Linked DNA regions of Homo sapiens: all the other regions are linked to region 3. Evidence: promoter capture Hi-C in human tissues and cell types (Jung and others, 2019). All regions are on one chromosome and are shown on one strand. Each heading gives the region's core, a stretch centred on a gene start or on the middle of the fragment in contact. The rest is flanking DNA. Distances are from core to core; before and after follow the strand shown. Region 1 has its middle 7.8 kb from the start of ZFP41. Region 2 overlaps NRBP2 (nuclear receptor binding protein 2). Region 3 holds the start of ZC3H3 (zinc finger CCCH-type containing 3).

Region 1 (2,700 bases), core at 136-2,635, 300 kb after region 3:
GGCAACAGCTGTGGCTGAGATCCTCCCGGCATCCTGGGCACAGGCATCAATCACCTAGTTTCGTGCTTGACTCACTGCTGGTGGTGTCTCCACTTTGCAGATAAAACAATGAAGGCTCAGAGGGTTTAAGAAACTCGACAGTGTCAAAGCACTGGGCCTGGACATCAGCACCACTGCTGGCTGTGTGCCTTGGGATGGTCAGTAGATTTCCTGTCAAATGGGGCAAGATGATAGCACCTGCCCTGTGGGGTCATTGTGAAGGCTACGTGAAAAGTCCTCACAAAGCCCTTAGTGCAGTACCCACTTGCTAAACTTGGCTTGTAATTTATAAGTTATTTTAAAATGGGGGCAATGTGCCCACTGGCTGCACCCATGGCCGTCTCGGGAGCTGCCATTGTCAGTGACTGGTGTGGGGCCAATCAGCACCTCTGCCCTCATTTCACTCTCTCTCCAGCCCAAACGTTCAAGGGGCTTAAAGAATCTTCCCACTGGATGGACTGAGCCATCCTAAAACCATCCTAAAACAGCGCCACACTTTTAGAAGCCAGAATCTAACTTTTAGAAGTTAGAAAGTTTTGATTCCGGTCGGGCGCGGTGGCTCACGCCTGTAATCCCAGCACTTTGGGAGGCCAAGGCAGGTGGATGATGAGGTCAGGAGTTTGAGACCAGCCTGACCAACACGGCGAAACCCCGTCTCTACTAAAAATACAAAAAAAATTAGCCGGACATGGTGGCGGGCACCTCTAATCCCAGCTACTTGGGAGGCTGAGGCAGGAGAATCGCTTGAACCCAGGAGGCCGAGGTTGCAGTGAGCTGAGAATGTGCCACTGTACTCCAGCCTGGGCGATAGAGCAAGACTCTGTCTAAAGAAGAAAAAAAAGTGAGTTTTGATCCCAAGGACATTCCAGTCATACTAATGGATCCGTCAGGGTTGCATCAGAGGAACAGAGCCCACAGAGACAGGTGTGTAGACGCAGGCCTGCGCTTTGCTTTGTTCCAGGGCTTGGACCTCCCAGGACTGTGGGGCCTGCTGAGCGGTGTGCTGGAGCCTGGATCCACAGGCAGGCGCCCAGAGTCTCGGACAGCAGGTGGGATGGAGCCAAGGCAGGCGGGTCTGGGTCTGGATTCCAACCCCTGCACCCCACTGCTGATGTGGGCAAGCTCCTCAACTTCAGATGCCCTCAGCGTTCCCACCCGCACGATGTTCAGATGCCCTCAGTGTTCCCTCCTGCACAATGTTCAGATGCCCTCAGCGTTCCCTCCTGCACAATGTTCAGATGCCCTCAGCGGTCCCTCCTGCATGACGGGGTAGGAACAGGATCTCATGGGATCTTCAATGAAGACCAAATGGTGTGAAGATGGAGGATGCCCAGGATGGTGTGGGGCATGGCAGGGCCTAGGGAGTGCCCAGGTCTTCCCTGCCTGGCGGGACAGCTGCTACCTTGGTTTTCACGCCCTTTATGGCATTGGTTCCTAAACCTGCTCATAATCAGAATCAGTTTGGAATCTTTTTAAGAAAAAAAAAAAAAAAAAAAGGGATTTCCAGACATCATCCAAGAGCTGGTCAAACAGAATGCCATTGGGGTTAAGCCTCATAACCTGTAATTTTAGAAGCTTCCCAGTGACTCTGATGATCAGGCAGGGCCTGAGTGGCAGCAGATGGCACAAGCTCCCTGGTGCAGTGGGGCACAGCTCGGGCTGTTCATTTGAAACTCCTAAGAGCTTGGAGAAATGCTGACCAGTCCCCCACCTCTAAGAGATCCCACTGTAGCTGGGGTAGGGGCAGAGGGGCTGGCATCTAGCATCAGCGTTTTGAAAAATCACCCCCAGATGATTCTTGTGTGTGGCCGGGGTCCAGAATCTCTGTTTTGGAGCACAGGCGAGGAGACCGCGTGAACAAGTGAACCGGTGAGGCTTTTGCATGCAGAGCAAGCAAGAGACACAAAAATGTCAGGCCACTAAGCAGAATCATTCTTCCATGAAACCCCAGCTCCTTACCTGTGAGCACATTCCTTAATTATATGTCACACCAATTTAATTGGAAAAATTAACACCCGCCCCTCGGGCTTATAATCTATGACAAGACATTGGTGGTAAATCCATTTATTCTCCAATTACGTAATCTTTCCCATGTTCACCCACTAACGGACTCACTCAGAGGTAACTTATCCAGGGTGGCACAGGCTGGGCAGTAGAGGAAGCTCCCTTCCAGCATAAACCCACTCTCTGAGCTAATTCTAGAACTTACATGGACATACCAAAAGGCTGCAGTTTGTCCAGCTCTTCCACGCTACATTTAAAAGTCCTTTCTCAGGATCATTGCAAGGTTTCTTTTTTCTTTCTTTTTTTGAGACAGGGTCTCGCTCTGTCACGTAGGGTGGAGTGCAGTGGCTCCATCTCTGCTCACTGCAGCTTCAACCTCCCTGGGTCAAGCGATCCTCCTGCCCCAGCCTCCTGAGTCGCTGGGACCATGGGCGTGCAACGGCATGCCTGGCTAATTTTTTCATTTTTTTTTTTTTTGTAGAGACGAGGCCTTGCTATGTTGCCCAGGCTGATCTCGAAACCCTGGGCTCAAGCCGTCTGCCTGTCTCGGCCTCCCAAAGCATGGGATTACAGGCGTGAGCAGTACACCTGGCCAGGGCTTCTTCCTGTGCAAATTATCTGTGTGGATTCTCTGGTGTTGGTAACAGGTTACCTAGA
Region 2 (2,700 bases), core at 57-2,556, 290 kb before region 3:
TCCCCTCTCCTGCTGCTCAGTGCCATCCCTCAGACCTTCTAACAGCCAGATAAGAGGTGCCCCTCCTTCTCTTAGGGCCTGCATCCCCACAGCCCAGCTCTCCTCCTGGCTGCCAGAGACCAGATCCAGGCTGACCCCCTTGTGGGGGTCATGGGGGTTATAGGACAGGCTGGGCACTCTCCTTTTCCGGGAGGCTCCCTGTCCCCTCAGATCCTTCCCCTGCATCCTGCTGCCTGCCCTGAACCTACTCCAAGCATCCTTCCTCCAGAACTCACCCGGGCTCTTCCACCCTGCCAGCAATCTTCCCCCACCCCCGCACCCCTCCCACCCCCCCCACCCCTCCCATCCCCCACCTGGTGCTGATTCCCGGACATCTATGTCCTGGTGTCTCCCCAGACTTTTCCTGCAGCACCCCCTCCTGGCCAGGGGCCTCTCTCGGTGCAGTGCAGCCAGAATTCATGTCCTAACAGGCAAACTGCCTGCTCCTGGCTGCCAGCAGAGATCATGGGAGTCCTCAGCTGACACCCAGGCTCTGGGAGGCCTGATCCCGCAGGCACCGTGCACTTCGGCGCGGTCCTGTCCCGCCCAACCTCCCTTTCCCCACGCCCACAGTTCCCTCTTTGTTCAAGTTGTTCTCTCCGCGGTGAAAGCTCCTATTCAGCCTTCAGTACCCAGCCCCTAATGTCGACTCTTCTCGAAGCTTTCCTTAGCTTGCCAAGCCACTAGCAGTGAGATGGGCTCCTCTTAGAGATTCCCCCCTTTCCAGTCTTTGCTGTCCCTTCCCGGCCCCTTTGGGGCCGCGGCATGTGGTCTTGCTGCTGGGTTTGTGAGTCCCAGCCTTCCCCCGCTGCAGGTCATCCAGATGCAGTGCAACCTGGAGAGAAGCGAGGACAAGGCGCGCTGGCATGTGAGCGGGGCCTGGGAGGGCGGCGCTGCCGTGGGGAAGGCGGGAGCGTGGCGGAGCCCTGAACCCCCAGCCGACCACGCCCCGCCGCCTCCCCAGCTCACTCTGCTTCTGGTGCTGGAAGACCGGCTGCACCGGCAGCTGACCTACGACCTGCTCCCAAGTAGGCTGGGCAGGGGACTTGGGCGGCGGGCGGTGACCCCAGGCGGCGGGTGGGCAGCGGCCTCATGCCTCGCCTTACGCCATTGCCTCAGCGGACAGCGCCCAGGACCTCGCCTCGGAGCTCGTGCACTATGGCTTCCTCCACGAGGTGCGCTGGGCGGTGCGGCGCGGCCTGGCGGAGGGGGCGCACGGGGCAGGCCGCGCCCCTCCGTCCCCCATGCCTCCCTCCTTCCGCAGGACGACCGGATGAAGCTGGCCGCCTTCCTGGAGAGCACCTTCCTCAAGTACCGTGGGACCCAGGCCTGACCCGGAGCCCCAGCCCCAGGGGACCATGCCGGGGTGCTGCCTGGGCAGGCCATGTTGGGGAGACTCCAGCACCGTGGGGCTGCCCTCCTCCATGCGCCTGGGAGCACAAAGGCCCCGGTAGTGAAGGAACCCCCCGTCTCCTGAGAGTGGGGCTGACCCTGCCTTGGGCGCCGAGGGGTTGGGGGGTGGGTGTGGGGGAGCCGTTAGGCCTCCCAGGTCCTTAGGATCAGGGTTGCCCCCAGAACCCCTTCCCATATCCTCCATTCTCCGCCCTGAGTTCCTACCCAGGCTGCCTGGCCGGGGCCACTGCCTCCTCAGCATGCAGGAGGCTGCCCTGTAGGGAACCCCAGCTCTGGGGCTTGGGGGTGAGGGTCAGCCCTGGACAGACCTCTGCCCAGGGAACTGCTCCATGGGGTCTGGGAGAGCAGCCATCCCCTGCTGGCACCATAGACCCACACAAGGAGCCTGCACAGCAAGCCAGCGGTGACACACCTGCAGGTGTCAGGCATGGCACTGGGCACAACAGGGACCTGGCAGGAGAAACAGACCACAGAGAGGTCTGGAGTTGAGGCTGTTGTCAGCAAAGCCCCTGGTCCCACACAGCTCTGCCCTAGAGCCACCTCTTTGACCCTTTACCCACCCTGAGACCAGAACTTGCAGCCCCTCTGCAGATCTCCTCTGGCCACTGCAGCCCCTCCAATGGGCTTTTTCTCTCATGCATTCCCTGGCCTGGAGGCGTCAGGGACCCCACATCCTCCCTGCTCCTCAGACTCACAGCCCCTCCATGTTACCTCCCGCACCTCCTCCCTGGGGCAGCTGCTCCCTGGGCCTCTGAGGATGTCAGCTCCTGGCTCCCTGCCTCTCTCCCACTCCACTCCTGGCTCAGTCTTAGAGATTTCTATGCCCTCATGGATTCTACCCCTGCCTTCCTGGCCTCTTGATTCTTGGCTTGCCTCTCCTCCAATTCCAAACTTAGTGAAATGGCCTTAAGCATTTTAAACTGTATGTATACATTAGCGCATTCATGCCTTTCTAAACGCATTTCAAATGTCAACCAGGAAGGCACACCACTGTATTAGTTTTATACTGCCGCTGTAAAATTTACCACAAACTTAGTGACTTAACACAAATTTATTGCAATTCTGTAGGCTGGAAGTCTGACTATGGGTCTCACTGGACTAGAATCAAGGCTGGCAGGCTGCCTTCCTTCCTGGAGGTTCTAGGGGAGACTCTGTCTCCTGCTCCTTCAGGCTGCTGGCAGAATCCACATCCTTTCGGTGGCAGGGCCAAGGTCCCCACTTTCTTGCTGACTGTAAACTAAGGCCACT
Region 3 (2,700 bases), core at 163-2,662:
CAACCTCCGCCTCCTGGGTTCAAGCGATTCTTCTGCCTCAGCCTCCTGAGTAGCTGGGACCACAGGTGTGCGCCACCACGCCTGGCTAATTTTTTATATTTTTAGCAGAGACGGGGTTTCACCATGTTGACCACGCTTGTCTCAAAACTCCTGACCTCGTGATCCGCCCGCCTCAGCCTCCCAAAGTGCTAGGATTACAGGCGTGAGCCACTGCGCCCGGCCGAATTTCCTTCCATTTTAAGGCTGAAAAATATTTCATTGTTTGTATGGATCACATTTTGTTTATCCTTCCATCCACCCGTGGACACTTGGGTTGTTTCCGTCTTTTGGCTATTGGGAAAAATGCTGCAGTGAACATGGGGGCACAAATATGTTTGAGTCTCTGGTTTCCATTCTTTTGGGAATATAGCCAGAAGTAGGGTTGCTGGATCATACCGTAGTTCCATTTTTGTTTTCTCCTAGAAAGGCAGATTGCCACATGCAGCGCCTCATTTGGATGTGTCTGGAATCTTGACTACCCTACCTTCTCCTACAAATGGACCTTGAGAGCTTGTTTGGAGGTTCTACCAGGGAAGCCCAGCTCTTCTATTGGGTATGGTCGTTCTCTTCGACTGAGCTGCAGCTTCGGGAGGGACGCACATGAAGCAGTGAGGAAGGAAGGGGACACCCGCCTAGCCAGCCAGATCAGCCGAATCAACCCTGGCGATCAATGGGATGACAGGTGTCGCAGCCAGATCGCCCTCATATCCGGTAGTTCTACTTTTAACCTTTTGTGGAATCTCCATAGTTTTCTGCGGTGCTGCGCCATTTACATTCCCACCAACAGCGCACAGAGGTTTACACTTGTACATGTTTCCAATGACGAACTAAAAACTTTCATGTTTTCAGAGGTTCAACATGTCTATCCAGGGAACCTTGCTCTCCGATGTCTTCTCCTCTGGCCACAGTAAGAGGTTTCACAGACCCTCCTGGGTCAAGAGTAATTGTTAACTGGCCCTTCTCCCATGGGTCCCCGCGTAGACCCCCCCCCCCCCAACACTCAACTGGGGCGAAATGAAACGCAGGGACTGTGGGAAGGAACTGCGGTATGGGCTGGGTGGGCCCCAGGTCTCGCCCCTCGCCAAGTCTCCCAAGGGGACGCGATCCCGGACTGCACAAGCTGGGCCCGCGCGGCCTCCCAGAGCCCAAGCAGTCCCTTCCCAGCCGTTACCAGGCCACTTCCCGGCGCTCACTAGTGACGTCCCCGCCTCGTTCTGCGCGTGCGCGGCTCTGCCTCTCCGCTGCCGTTGTCAGCGCGACGGCGGGTCCTCGGCGGTCGGCAGACATCCGGGCCTGCTCCTGGCAGCTCCGCCCTGGCCCGCTCCGCCCCGCCCGCGGGAAAAAGGTCGCGTAGCGATGACGTCGTGGGGGCCTGGCCGGCCGTCGCGGACTCGGGAGATGGAGGAAAAGGAGATATTACGGCGGCAGATCCGCCTACTGCAGGGTAGGTCCGGCCGGGGCCGGGACGCGAGTCCCCTTCTTTCCCCCTCACCTCGCGGCGGGTCCCCTGCCCCCTTGTCGAAGGGGTCGCTCACCGCCCGCGTGTTCTGGGTGGCGGCTGGGGTGGGGGACGGTAGGGTCCGCCAGGACTTGTGGGCCGGCTCAGGGCCCGGGTCAGTCCCCGGCTCCAGCTTTGTCGAGGGAGTGGTGCCGGCCCTGCTGGGGCTGCAGAGGGTGGAGGCAGGGCCGTCGCTTAGTAACCCGCGGGGGGCGGCGGCCCTCCCCACCACCGCGGGCTGTCGCGTCCCCCGGCGCCCACTCTCTCCCCGCGCCCCACTGCGGGGCTGGGACTAGTTCATGGCTCATTTCGGCAGAGCAGGCTAAGGGCGCACGCGGGTTCCTTCCTTGACGCCCGGTTTTTTTTGAGACAGAGTCTTGCTCTGTCACCCAGGCTGGGGTGCGGTGACGCGATCACGGCTCACTGCAATCTCCTCATCCTGGGTTCGAGTGATTCTCCTGCCTCAGCCTCCGGAGTACGTGGGATTACAGGTAGGCGCCAGAACGCCTGGCTAATTTTTGTATTTTGAGTAGAGACGGGGTTTCACCATGTTGGCCAGGATGGTCTCTAACTCCCGACCTCAGGTGATTCACCCGCCTCGGCCTCCCAAAGTGCTGGGATTACAGGCATGAGCCACCGCTCCCAGCCTCGACGCCCGGTTTTGATGCCCCTTTTCTCCGAACAGTCACACTCCCCTTGCCATTCCAGGCGCAGACTGAACAGGCTTCAGCTTCCACACTTAAACATTAAAAAACCCAAATTGGTCTTTCTAAACTTAAAAAGAAAATCCATGTTCGGACGCAGTGGCCCACACCTGTAATCCCAGCACTTTGGGAGGCTATGGCAGGAGGATGGCTTGAGCCCGGGAGTTTGAGACCATCCTGGGCAACATGACGAGAGCCCGTCTCTACAGAAAAATTTTAAAAAGTGAGATGGGCGTGGTGGCTTGCGCCTGTAGTCCCAGCTACTCAGAGGTGGAAGGTTTGCTTGTGCCCTGGAGGTCCCGGCTGCAGTGAGCCGTGATTGGGCCACTGCACTCCAGCCTGGGCAACAGAGAAAAACCACATCTCAAATAAAAAGCCAAAACCAACCAAACAAAAAAAAGCTTTAAAAATTAAAAATCCTTTTTGCTTTTACTCTCACAAAGGGAAGACTTAAGGATT

Evidence for each region. The method cuts DNA at HindIII sites, captures the fragments that hold promoters and counts their contacts. A contact is called where the count stands out against the background at its distance.
Region 1: a contact is called between a fragment that was not itself captured here and the fragment with the promoter of ZC3H3 in region 3, in 1 of the 25 tissues and cell types used here (dorsolateral prefrontal cortex).
Region 2: a fragment that was not itself captured here is called in contact with the fragment with the promoter of ZC3H3 in region 3 in 1 of the 25 tissues and cell types used here (dorsolateral prefrontal cortex).

What each region holds. Positions count from the first base shown.
Region 1 is chr8:143,237,767-143,240,466 of GRCh38, reverse strand. No RefSeq gene overlaps it. Among named protein-coding and RNA genes, the nearest start is that of ZFP41, 7.8 kb to the left of the region's middle. The HindIII fragment of the contact is 3,747 bases long and covers 1-2,700 here.
Region 2 is chr8:143,834,334-143,837,033 of GRCh38, reverse strand. It overlaps NRBP2 (nuclear receptor binding protein 2), which reads left to right. Exons shown (of 18, transcript NM_178564.4): 15 at 854-907; 16 at 1,004-1,067; 17 at 1,159-1,214; 18 at 1,304-2,700. The coding sequence ends at 1,372. Among named protein-coding and RNA genes, the nearest start is that of MIR6845, 2.1 kb to the left of the region's middle. RefSeq lists an enhancer at 1-213. The HindIII fragment of the contact is 3,184 bases long and covers 1-2,700 here.
Region 3 is chr8:143,540,159-143,542,858 of GRCh38, reverse strand. ZC3H3 (zinc finger CCCH-type containing 3) reads left to right here and starts at 1,412. Exons shown (of 12, transcript NM_015117.3): 1 at 1,412-1,483. The coding sequence starts at 1,438. It also overlaps the pseudogene RN7SKP175. The HindIII fragment of the contact is 13,358 bases long and covers 1-2,700 here.